Regions from separate parts of the Homo sapiens genome. Here regions 1, 2 and 3 are each linked to region 4. Evidence: promoter capture Hi-C in human tissues and cell types (Jung and others, 2019). All regions are on one chromosome and are shown on one strand. The core of a region is centred on a gene start or on the middle of the fragment in contact, and the rest is flanking DNA. Distances in the headings are between cores, read along the strand shown. Region 1 overlaps ABI3BP (ABI family member 3 binding protein). Region 2 overlaps ABI3BP (ABI family member 3 binding protein). Region 3 overlaps ADGRG7 (adhesion G protein-coupled receptor G7). Region 4 holds the start of PCNP (PEST proteolytic signal containing nuclear protein).

What was found. The method cuts DNA at HindIII sites, captures the fragments that hold promoters and counts their contacts. A contact is called where the count stands out against the background at its distance.
Region 1: a contact is called between a fragment that was not itself captured here and the fragment with the promoter of PCNP in region 4, in 1 of the 25 tissues and cell types used here (mesenchymal stem cells).
Region 2: a fragment that was not itself captured here is called in contact with the fragment with the promoter of PCNP in region 4 in 1 of the 25 tissues and cell types used here (mesenchymal stem cells).
Region 3: a contact is called between a fragment that was not itself captured here and the fragment with the promoter of PCNP in region 4, in 1 of the 25 tissues and cell types used here (small bowel).

What each region holds. Positions count from the first base shown.
Region 1 is chr3:100,815,308-100,818,007 of GRCh38, forward strand. It overlaps ABI3BP (ABI family member 3 binding protein), which reads right to left. Exons shown (of 68, transcript NM_001375547.2): 42 at 2,129-2,188; 43 at 1,381-1,461; 44 at 605-664. Among named protein-coding and RNA genes, the nearest start is that of TFG, 110 kb to the left of the region's middle. The HindIII fragment of the contact is 3,105 bases long and covers 1-2,700 here.
Region 2 is chr3:100,756,921-100,759,620 of GRCh38, forward strand. The region is part of intron 63 of ABI3BP (ABI family member 3 binding protein); the gene reads right to left. Among named protein-coding and RNA genes, the nearest start is that of TFG, 49 kb to the left of the region's middle. The HindIII fragment of the contact is 4,852 bases long and covers 1-2,700 here.
Region 3 is chr3:100,692,406-100,695,105 of GRCh38, forward strand. It overlaps ADGRG7 (adhesion G protein-coupled receptor G7), which reads left to right. Exons shown (of 16, transcript NM_032787.3): 16 at 2,339-2,700. The coding sequence ends at 2,596. Among named protein-coding and RNA genes, the nearest start is that of TFG, 16 kb to the right of the region's middle. The HindIII fragment of the contact is 3,606 bases long and covers 1-2,700 here.
Region 4 is chr3:101,572,863-101,575,562 of GRCh38, forward strand. PCNP (PEST proteolytic signal containing nuclear protein) reads left to right here and starts at 1,318. Exons shown (of 5, transcript NM_020357.3): 1 at 1,318-1,417. The coding sequence starts at 1,354. RefSeq lists enhancers at 529-1,474, 918-1,187, 1,288-1,417, 1,498-1,657, 1,678-1,837. The HindIII fragment of the contact is 9,941 bases long and covers 1-2,700 here.

The DNA of each region.
Region 1 (2,700 bases), core at 201-2,700, 760 kb before region 4:
GACCAAAATCACATATGAAGTGATTAAAGGAATAAATATTGAACATGCATAGATATTCAGAGGGATTCCTACTTAGCGAAGATTAAGAGCCATTACTAAACAGTAGTGAAGAACAGTGGTCAAGCTTATCAATGATTGAGGAGCCTGGAACTTTCAGGGAAATCTATTTTAATGTAATAGGGACACCTTATTCCTTAAAATAGGAAGAAAATAATGAGACTAAGACACAGGTTTTATAGAAACTAAGTTACTCAAAGGGAGTTCATGGTACTTAATTGTTGCTTTATAGATCTAAATACCAAATGGAAGGGTATTTAGATCTATAAATACTAAATACCAATTTGGACCTCAGATTTAACACTGAATCATATGGTGCAAATTTAAAGAGAGTTTCATGCTGGACAGCTGTCCTTCACTGGGTCCAGGGACATCTGCGAAAAACAACAGGTAACACTTGAATTAAAACTGCTGACTATTTTAAAATGAAGTGTAGAATGGAATAACAGCGTCTTAGGAAGCAGAAGCAACTCTGGTCATGACAGTGCTCAAGTGCGTTTTTAAATGGCAATAAAAAGCATTTAATGCAAGTCACAAAAATCATTACCAAATGTTGTTCCTGGAGCATCAGTACTATGAACAACAGGTTCAAAGCCTGTAACAGAAACTAACCAAAAGCAACAACATGAATACAAGAAAGCTTAAAGACTTTTTAAAAAAAATCCTCAATTTTTATTTTAAAACATGAGTTTCAAATGATACACAATTTTTTAAAACTTTTGAATTGATAGGCAGCATATAGTTGCTTTTGGAAGATTTGGCCACACTAGCTAGAACAATTCATCAAAGAAGGTAGTTACAACCTTTGAACTCTGTTACATATCTTGATATTATCCACATGAGGTTTTCCTAGGTATTTGGTTTTCTAACTAGTATGGATATTTGGCTTTGGAAATTTGTTTAGGCAACAGATACGAAAATACAGAGAGAAATATATATGAAAGTAACTTGTTGCTTTTCTTGGAAGTTGAAAATAAATGCCTGTTTATGTAATCATAACAAATGGATCACATGTTTCAATGCAGATATAGCAATAAATACCCATGAGTATGCTAATCTCGCTGTAAACACATCTTTAAAGAGGGACCAAGAACGTCATCCAAACCAAGTCATTTAGGAGATCAGGCACACAAGTGGCTCCAAGCCATGTTCTCCTGGATAGCTCTGTACGAGAAGCAGTTGCTACCCATGTTAAATAATTTGATTCTTAGAAAACATGATGACTGTTACTTCCCGTCATAGGCATTTCTTTAGGACTTTATTGGGACAGCCTGCCAGGGTTCAGGTTCCTTGGCTACTTAAGCCAAGGATTCATACATTTACCCGATTTGTTCTGAGGTACTTCAGGACTTGATGTAGTTTTGGGTCTGGGACGGGGACGACGTGTCCGTTGTGTTTTAGGAGCTGAAGGAAGAAACTTTGGATTACTCTAGTGCAGGTGGCTTTGGAGACAAAACTTTAGGTTTTTAAAGGTATGTCATATTTCCTTGAGATTTAAGTCATATGTCTTTTAAGATTAAAATATTTTCTATTTTGTTAATTTTCTTAATCACTGAAGATTCTTGAGAGAGAAAACTTACATATAAAATCAAGTTGAAAAGTGAAGAGACTCATACATCTTTAACTTCAGAAACACTAGAGCCAAACTCTGGATGATAGAGTCTCAGGCTCACACTAAATCTTTTGAGTATGCCAAAGAATCCATGATACCATAAGAACTGTTAGAGTTTAGTCAGTTTAGATATGATATAGCCACCAGCAACTGTGTTTGAAATTTAGCTTCAGACATGAGTGACATGAATGCTGTTTAGACAAAAGTACATGACACAAATTCAAATAAGATTACATGGTAGACTCTGAACTAGGTCCATGCATAGCTTTTGAAAATAATAGGTAACTTCTAAGGATCACTAATACTCAAATATAAAGTTGAAGGACAATATAAAGTTGAAGGATAGCAGAAGATGACAAGATAGTCCTACAAAGCTGATGACAATGTGATTATGATAATGATGGAATGGATTTGAAAATAAGGAGGAAAAAGTTATTCAGGAACACAGAATATCATTACCTAACGTTGTTTCTGGAAACTTGGTTCTAAAAGTGTCAGGTTCAAGGACTGTAGTAACAACTAGACAAAAATAATAAAATAAAGCAAAAAGATTTAACTTGAATATTAATTTCACAGTTCAATTTTTAAGCTTCAGAACTTAAAAGTAAGGCTTGTTTTTTGCAGATTTGGCCAAACCATGGTCAGGTACCCATTAGTCTCATAAGACAGATTTGCAAGACAGCATTGCACTCAGCTTAATATCACTATGTGGTCAACAAAACATTCTCCTAGATGTTTGATTATCTGATTCTTGCTACACATTAGTGGAAGATTGTTGGACAAGCTTTTTACACATTTGCATAATATATGCTTTTCTAACTGTATTGAAAAAGGCGTTTATCAGTCTACTTGCACTTCTATAGAAGTTGGGATAAATATCTTGTTAACTACTGTCTAAGTAACTATGGATACAATAAAGAGTTCATATGTATGAAAGCATAAAGAACACCATGTAATTAATAAACTGTGCTTATCAAAATCTCAAAGTATTCCTTGATTCAGTAAAAGTTAAGAAACTGTTAAATCTTAAT
Region 2 (2,700 bases), core at 41-2,540, 820 kb before region 4:
TGTTGGTAAAATTTTTTCTGAAGAAGCACATTTTGTCACAGATGAATGACATCATAGGTCTAAGAGAAATGTCTCAATATTGATTGTACATAGAAAATAAAATTTAAAGTTTCAGGAAACAGTTATTTGAAGTAAGAAACTTCAAATAGAAGTTTTGGAAGATAAAGTTGAGGACATTTCACAAATACTAGAACAAAAAGTCAAAGAGATGAAAAAATGAGAGAAAAGAAAGTTGGAGAATTATTCCAGAGAATATGGTACCCAACTAGTAGGAATTGTAGAAGAAAGAAAGGAAAGGAGATAGAAAATTATCCTAGAAACTTTGTAATAAATTTCCCAGTACTGAAAGACAAGAGTTTCCAGATTGAAAAGACCTACTCTGCCCAGCAAAATGAATAAAAGAAAAAGGACTAAAACATGAGTTACAAAATTTCAGAGTACTGGGGTGATAAAGACAAGTCCTCAAAACTGAGAAGAAAATAGGTCCCGTTCAAGGGATCCAGAATCAGGATGACATTTGACTTTTTAACAGTAACACTGGAAGTTAGAAAATAGAACAATTCCTTCAAAAGTCTTCATTATATCCTAATATGTCCAGCTAAAGAATAGTATCAAAGTAAAACAACTTTTAAAACATGTGAGGACTCAAAAATATTGCCTTTTATAACTTTTCCTCAAGATTTATTTCTTTAGTGCTACAAAGTAATGGAGTAAACAAGGAAGAAGTCTTGTGATGCAGGAATTGGGATTCAAAACAGAGGCAAAGGATGTATAGGAATTCCAAAAGAGATGTTGCCATTAAAAACATACAACAAATAGAACAAAGAAATGACTGGAGTATTTGAGCATCTTGTGAAAAGGTCAGTCTAGACATAGGGATTTAATTGACAGAAGTAATGGACAAAATGGTAAAAAAAAAATTTGCATCTGGGGAACCAAATTTAGCAACAGGGAGGAGATGCTTTTGTGATAATTTAATTTTAAAACTGTACATATATTTCTGATGAAAATTAAAGAACTATAAGACCTACCACATCAAAATGAATATCTAAATGGAATGCAGTCCAGATGACAAATGCTGTCAAGCCTTTTGGCCCCATCTAGGACAAGCCAGGTAAATAAAGCCTCACAGAATGCCATGCCTGATTCTACCTGGGTAGGTGTAAATCCCCTCCAAAAACAAACAAACAAAAAAAAAACAATCTTCCCCGCGCATCCCCATCAGGAGGCAGCATGATCCAGGGGGCGTTAAAAACATGGGTTCTAGAACCAGAAAGATTCACAGCTCACTAATGTGTGACTTTAAGGTAACTTAACCTCTCTGAGCTTCAGTTTACTCTTACATAAAAATGAGGATAATGCTATTTGTGAGGATACTATTCGTTATAGTAATTATAACTTCACGGGGGCTATAAAAGCATCTGTGAGGATTAAATGAGAATGCATGTAAAAGCAAGGTGCTTGACACATAGTAATAAGTATTCACTAGTATCATATTTGTATCTCTAGATAATTTTTTTTAAAGAGTTTCTGTTATTGGGGAATTTGACAAACACTGCCATAGAACTCTCAAGGCAGAACTCTTCTATGGCCACACACTTGCTTTTTGCTTGTGAAGTTTATAAGAAGGGTATAGCCCACGGGTTATTGGAAAGATCGAAAATTTAACAGGTAAACCTTTCTGCCTGCCATCAACATAGATCCACAGGCTAAGAAAAAAATGTTATATTAATATTTCATTGAGTCTAGAAAGCACTAAAAAGCATTATCTCAGAAGAGTGGCATAATAGAGGGTATTGTTTGACACCAACAGTTTGAGAGCAGCTGTAAAAATCAGCATGAGAACAAAAAAACATAGATCAGTTCATTGAAAAGTGAAAAACTAGGATTTCAAAAAGTGTGACCTGTGGCTCATGAGCAAAACTGTTAAGAGACAAGAACCTCCAACCTGTAGGCTTCTAGCCTGAGACTGATTTCTTCTTTAGTGGAAGAGGTAATATCCTCAAGCATAACCTTCAGATCTGGATGGAGCAGATGCTTGCCATTCCCTACCCCGTTTTGATCCTTTCTATAATCTTTTCCTTCTATTTTTTGCCTACAATTTAGAACTGAAGTAAAGTTTTCATTATTTAATAAACTTTTTAGTTACATACTCCTTACTGATTTAAAAAGTTGGTTTTCATTCTAACAAAAGTCTTACAAATCTCAAGCAAACTGTTTTTTATATAGAAAGTCTACCCTATAGCTGTTGGTTTGAGTTGTTCAGCCGAGTTTTACCCCTAGTGTAGTCGTGAAATATTTGATCCCCATTCAGGTGAAGGTTCAGAGGGAGATAAATGGACAAGTAGAATAAGAAAAAAAGAGGAAGGACTGCTCAACATGGGAAAGGAGAATCTAATCAGTTTGGGTAAGCTTGACTGCAAGGACACTGAAGGATTATGGTAAGCATTTCTGGATACCTGCCACATGTAAAGTTATTATGCTGATCTGGGAACACAGATAAGGAGCAAGAGGGGAGAGCCAAGGGGGCACTCAGAAGACAAAATAAGGCTAAATCAGGGTATCAGTAGTCGTGGGGTCATAAACTAGCTGGCTCTTATGCCATAAGGGGCATTTTTTTGTGTTCCCCCACTTCTGTGGGGACACAAATTCCAGAGTTGGGCTGTACTCTAATTCTGTGGTACTGTTATCACTTTCTTC
Region 3 (2,700 bases), core at 16-2,515, 880 kb before region 4:
TGCCCAGAGTGAGCAGGAATTTAGGGAGGAATCTGAATGAAGGCACAGTCAAGGATTTTCTCTTCTCCATGCATAGGAGGGGGAAATTATAAAAGAGAGGTTCGTAACAAAGTGTTAATGGTAAAATGGTAAAAACTGTTAATGGTAAAATGATAAAAATTACAACATGGTAAAATTGAGTATCGCAATGTGGCAAGGACATGGAGCTAAAAGTCAGGAAACTTAGGCTGTTATTCAGCTTTACCATTGATTCCTATGATTATAGGAAAATCACATAACCTCTGTGGGTGAGGTATGCAAAATATAAAATGGAGTAGTGGGGCAATATGTGTGTTAAAATCAACACAGTGTTTTGTAAAATGGATCTGAATATTGCTTACATCAGAACTTACATAGTATGTTAAAATGCTGATTCCTGGGCCTCACCCCTTACCTACTCAACCAGAATCTACAGGCATAGGAGCTGAGACTCTTCATTTTAAACAAGGACCTCAGGTGATTTCTATGTACACTAAAGTGTAGGAATATCTAGATTTGTTTACACGTGAAACTTCTAGATTTAGAATACTATAATTCTAATAAACATTTACTAAATGCTACAGATATTACTTAGAAGGCACAATTTGAACTTTGTGTTACTGGTAGTCAGTCTGACCCACACATTTTTTCTTTTCAAATAACATTTTTGGGCTTTTAGGAAGCACAGAAATATTGGGAGTCCACCCAAACAGGTCCAACAGGATGGTGTTTTTATGAATTATCCATGGTCTAGGGTCTTTTCCTAATTATTGTACCAACAGAAATTTGATCAAATCTTAGTTTACTTTAGAATTTAAATTCTGGAAAAATCAGATGAAATAGTGTATGCCACAAAAAAGATGGTTTTCTAGAGACTGGATTTCTCATGTGCCCCAAATAAATTTCTCTCCCTTGAACAATCAGGATGGCCAATGACCACTCCTGTCCTTCTGAAACCTGTGTCTCCAAGCACACACTGTCATAGGGCCTTTCTTCTGATGTGTTAGATACCACCTGTTGAGTAATAATCAAGCTACTTTTTCTACTTTTGGCCAGAGAACAAGTCTGTCTCTTGCCAACACTTATTGATTTTTTAGTCAAACTATAAGGGTCTTTCCAGAGTACCAGAAGTCTCCAATAACAGTACTCACAGGATATGATTCCAAAAATAAACTCTTAAAAAGGTTGGGGCCCTATAGATGCTAATGTGGGAGACATCCAAGGATATTTATTTTTAAAAATACCTTTTCATTTTGAAATGATTTAATAAAAAATTTTGGAAAAATAGTATAGCTCCCACATATTCTTTGTCCAGCTTTCCCAAATGATAATATCTTATACAGCCATAGTATACTGTCAAAATCAAGAAACTGACATTGGCACAATATTATCAACTTAACTACAGATGCTATTTCATCTGTCATTTCCACAAAGGATATTAATAAAGAATTAACAGCAGCATCTTAAAAGCTATGATACACTTTGCAGTCACTTTCTGTTACAGTTACAGGCAACAGTATAGGCAGCACCGTATATTGGATAGAGGAGGGGTTTTGGAGCTAAAGATGTAAGAATTCAATTCCAGACTCCACTGAGTACTGGTTGGGTGATCGTGGACAAACTACTTAGTTTATCTGAACTTTAGTTTCCTTATCTGAAACATGCGGATGATAAAGCTTGTTGTATTGGGTTGATGTGAGGATTACATGAGAATGATCAAATGATGAGGATTAAGTGAAAAGCAAGGGTCTGATACTGATATGACTTCTATAAATGGCAGTTTTTACTGGAAACATATAGAAAATATTATTCAGTGTTTTGTGGCTCAATTTCTCATGTACATCTGGTCTTCATCTGTGAAGTACAGAAAAGCAGTGACTAGAAGGGCTTTACATTTTTTTGTCCTTAAGTGCACAAATTTCTAGCTATGTTACTATAACTCCAAGAAATATGGAAGCACAGAATGTTAGAACTGGGAGAAGAATTAGGTATTTCATAGTTAATCTTCTTCCTTCAGGAAGTTGAAGATTATCAAGATTATGAAATAAGCAAATTTACACAGCCAGCTAGTGGCAACCCAGGACCTGAACTCGGGTCTTCTATATCTGCTATTGTACTGTTACATGTAGGTCTTTGTATATGGGAAAACTTTGCCTCAACCCTCTTAGATTAAAAAGTGCATGGCAGCTGCACACTGGCAAATTCAAGTTGGGGAAGTGCCGTGCAGATGAGAAGGTTGGGTGGCAGAGTGAAATAAAATGTCTTCCTTGATACTGTATCTCAGCACTTACCCAACATTAAACTTTTGTTCTATCTGCAGGGATTGCAAATTTTTATCCTGTACACTGTTAGAACAAAAGTCTTCCAGAGTGAAGCTTCCAAAGTGTTGATGTTGCTATCGTCTATTGGGAGAAGGAAGTCATTGCCTTCAGTGACGCGGCCGAGGCTGCGTGTAAAGATGTATAATTTCCTCAGGTCATTGCCAACCTTACATGAACGCTTTAGGCTACTGGAAACCTCTCCGAGTACTGAGGAAATCACACTCTCTGAAAGTGACAATGCAAAGGAAAGCATCTAGACAGTAAAACTTACCTGTTGTGGTCTTTTTAATCACCTCGTTTGAGTTTTATCTGTTTCTCTCCTTTATTTCCCAGTCCTCTCAGAAAGTCTTCCTCAATGTAT
Region 4 (2,700 bases), core at 68-2,567:
ATGATGGATCAGGGACTTCAACCTAGATCACAAAATCACCACCACACTGCCCTGCTTCTGTCATGGGAAACACACTTTGATAATTTCTTCATTCTTTCTCCACTCCCTGGACTTGAAGCCCGAGAAGTAATCCATCCGCAAATATTGAACACTTTTTATATTCATATATGAAACGCACAGTACACAGTTTTTAAAAACTGGTCTCTGTTGTCAAGGAACTTTTGAGCCATTCAGAGAGACAACACTTAAAACACACACACACACACACACACACACAAACTGAGGGAAGTATGAAGTGACCAAATAATGGTATACAAAGATGATCTCATTTGATCCCTATTACCACTCTTTGAGGAGGTACTATTATTATTGCTCTTTTATAGAGAAGAAAAGGTAGCTCTGTAGGCAGTAAGCAAGTCTCAAGGTTACTCAAGCAGGAAAGGGCAAAACAGATTCAAATCCAAGTTCTGACTCCTAAGACTTTCTCTAACTATATATGGTAAGACAAACCCAGAAACTCCAGTTCCCTAAGCAAGTAATAGACCCCATTTGGCTAGGAGGGCTGGATAAATACTGAGAAAGGGGGAAGATGAAGCCGAAAAGGTAGGCTAGGGCCTAATGTAACTCACGGACTTCAGAATGCAGACTGTAGGAATCCACTAAAGGTTTCTTATTAAGGCAGAAATTACTGCAGTCTTAACTTGACATAGTAGTTTCTCAACTTGGTAGAAGCAGACTATACAAAAAGTAACTTTACAGTTGGCTACGTGACTTAGACAAATTACTCTCTCTGACCTCAACTCTTACAGGTAATTGAGAGGAGAATTCTATATTTGGACAATCGCCGTGATTAAACGAGTGTATGAAAGGCGTCTGAAGCTAGGGGGCGCTAGATAAACACTGATTTCCCCTTTAGGGAAAAAGAATGCAGGCTTTTTGTTTACATAGAGTTGGCAGGCATGCGTTATCCAGCAAGGCCGGAACGGAAGACACTCTCAGCCTCAGCTGCAACCACATCTGGGTATGCAGAAACCTTCTAAGATCCCAGCGTTTCCAGGGAGATGCTCCATTTCCCCTCACTTCTCCGGACCTGTCGCTAGACCATGAAGACCTGACTGCCCTCTAATAAAGTGCCTAGCCAGCACTCTTAGACCGCCCAACCTTCCCAGCTCTTCCTTCCGAGGCGGCTACTCGATGACATCACATCCACTTCCGCTTCCGAAGGCGGCCTCTTTTCATTCCTCGGGACCGCTCTAGGCTGCCACCACGCCGGCTGGCCCCAAAAACTCGATGGTTGTTGGGCGGGGTCGTGACGTCCTTGGCGTGGCTGCAGGGGAGGCCGCGGCGGGGAAAATGGCGGACGGGAAGGCGGGAGACGAGAAGCCTGAAAAGTCGCAGCGAGCTGGAGCCGCCGGAGGTGAACACAACCCCAGCGTCGTGGGCAGCGTGGGATGCTCCGGGCCTTTCTTTGAGCTCCCAGGGTGGGGGGAGTGGGGTGGGGCGAGAATGGGCGGATCTGGACCTCACCCGGCCAGGTGTTGGGCCCAGACCTGCCTCGGGCACGCCCGATGCGGCCCTCTGGGCTCCGGGCCTACATCGCCTCCTTGCCTGGGGAGAGCCGGCCACTGTTCGTCACCTCCTGGCCCCAGCGGAGGCCCTGATTCCGAGGAGAAGGGAGATGGGCGCCAGAAAGGGAGACCGAACTCGGGGTGGGACCAGGAGCGGCGGTGCAGGAGCCGCTACCGCCACACCGGAGACGCACATCACACAAAACACACACACCGGAGACGCTCATGAGACATAACATACACACAGTGCGAGCCACCGAGTAGTTGCCGCGGGAACTGGCCGCAGGCTGAGTTTCTGACGGTGCCGGCCTCTCAGTTACACGCAGGAGTTAATTACGCTTGCTGCTCCCTTTTCACTGAGGAGGTGGACAACTCCGGCCTGCTCTCTTTCCTTTACTTCCAAGTTTAATATTGACCCTGTGACAGGATGGGCCGAGGTGATGGAGGGGAAGAGGAATGCCTTTGCCTGCCCTCTGGTTTAAGCTGCGGGGTCTAGGGCTAAGGTTTGGTTGCTTTTCTTTGAAGTATCTCCCTTAGGCTGTTGCCAGCTGACCGCTTGCCAGATACTTAGGCGACTAAATAGTCTAGCGTGACTCTTCCTGTATTTTGTTACGACGTTAAACTCAGGTTACAGCTATCCTTATTCTGTCCATTCCACTCCCTAAATTCGGGTCTTGTGCGTGAAGGAAAAGAAACGTAATCTCTCCAGCTCCCTCTTTGCACATAACAAGACAAGTGACTTAACACGTGCGAGCTGTTTAAAATGTTTTTAGAACATTTTAAACATTATTCTCTATTCTGACCACCTTAGTTATCATTCCCGAAATTATTTAATATGAGAAAATAGAAACGATTAATAGCATATGAAGGCCACTAGTAGACCTACTAACATAATGTTTCATGTTAATTGCCTTGGGAACAAAAATTATTGAAAAGATTAAGTGTAATGTTAATTACTTTGGACCCAGGATTTCCTTTTTAAAAAACACGTACAATTCTGTTAGTTAAGCTGGAACTCCATCTCTCTCTTCCCTCCCCACCCCCTGTCTTTTTTTTTTTTTATAACTAGTAAAATACCTTATGAAAGAACAATTTAAATTTAAACCATCTACTACTTTCTCACTAGGGAATT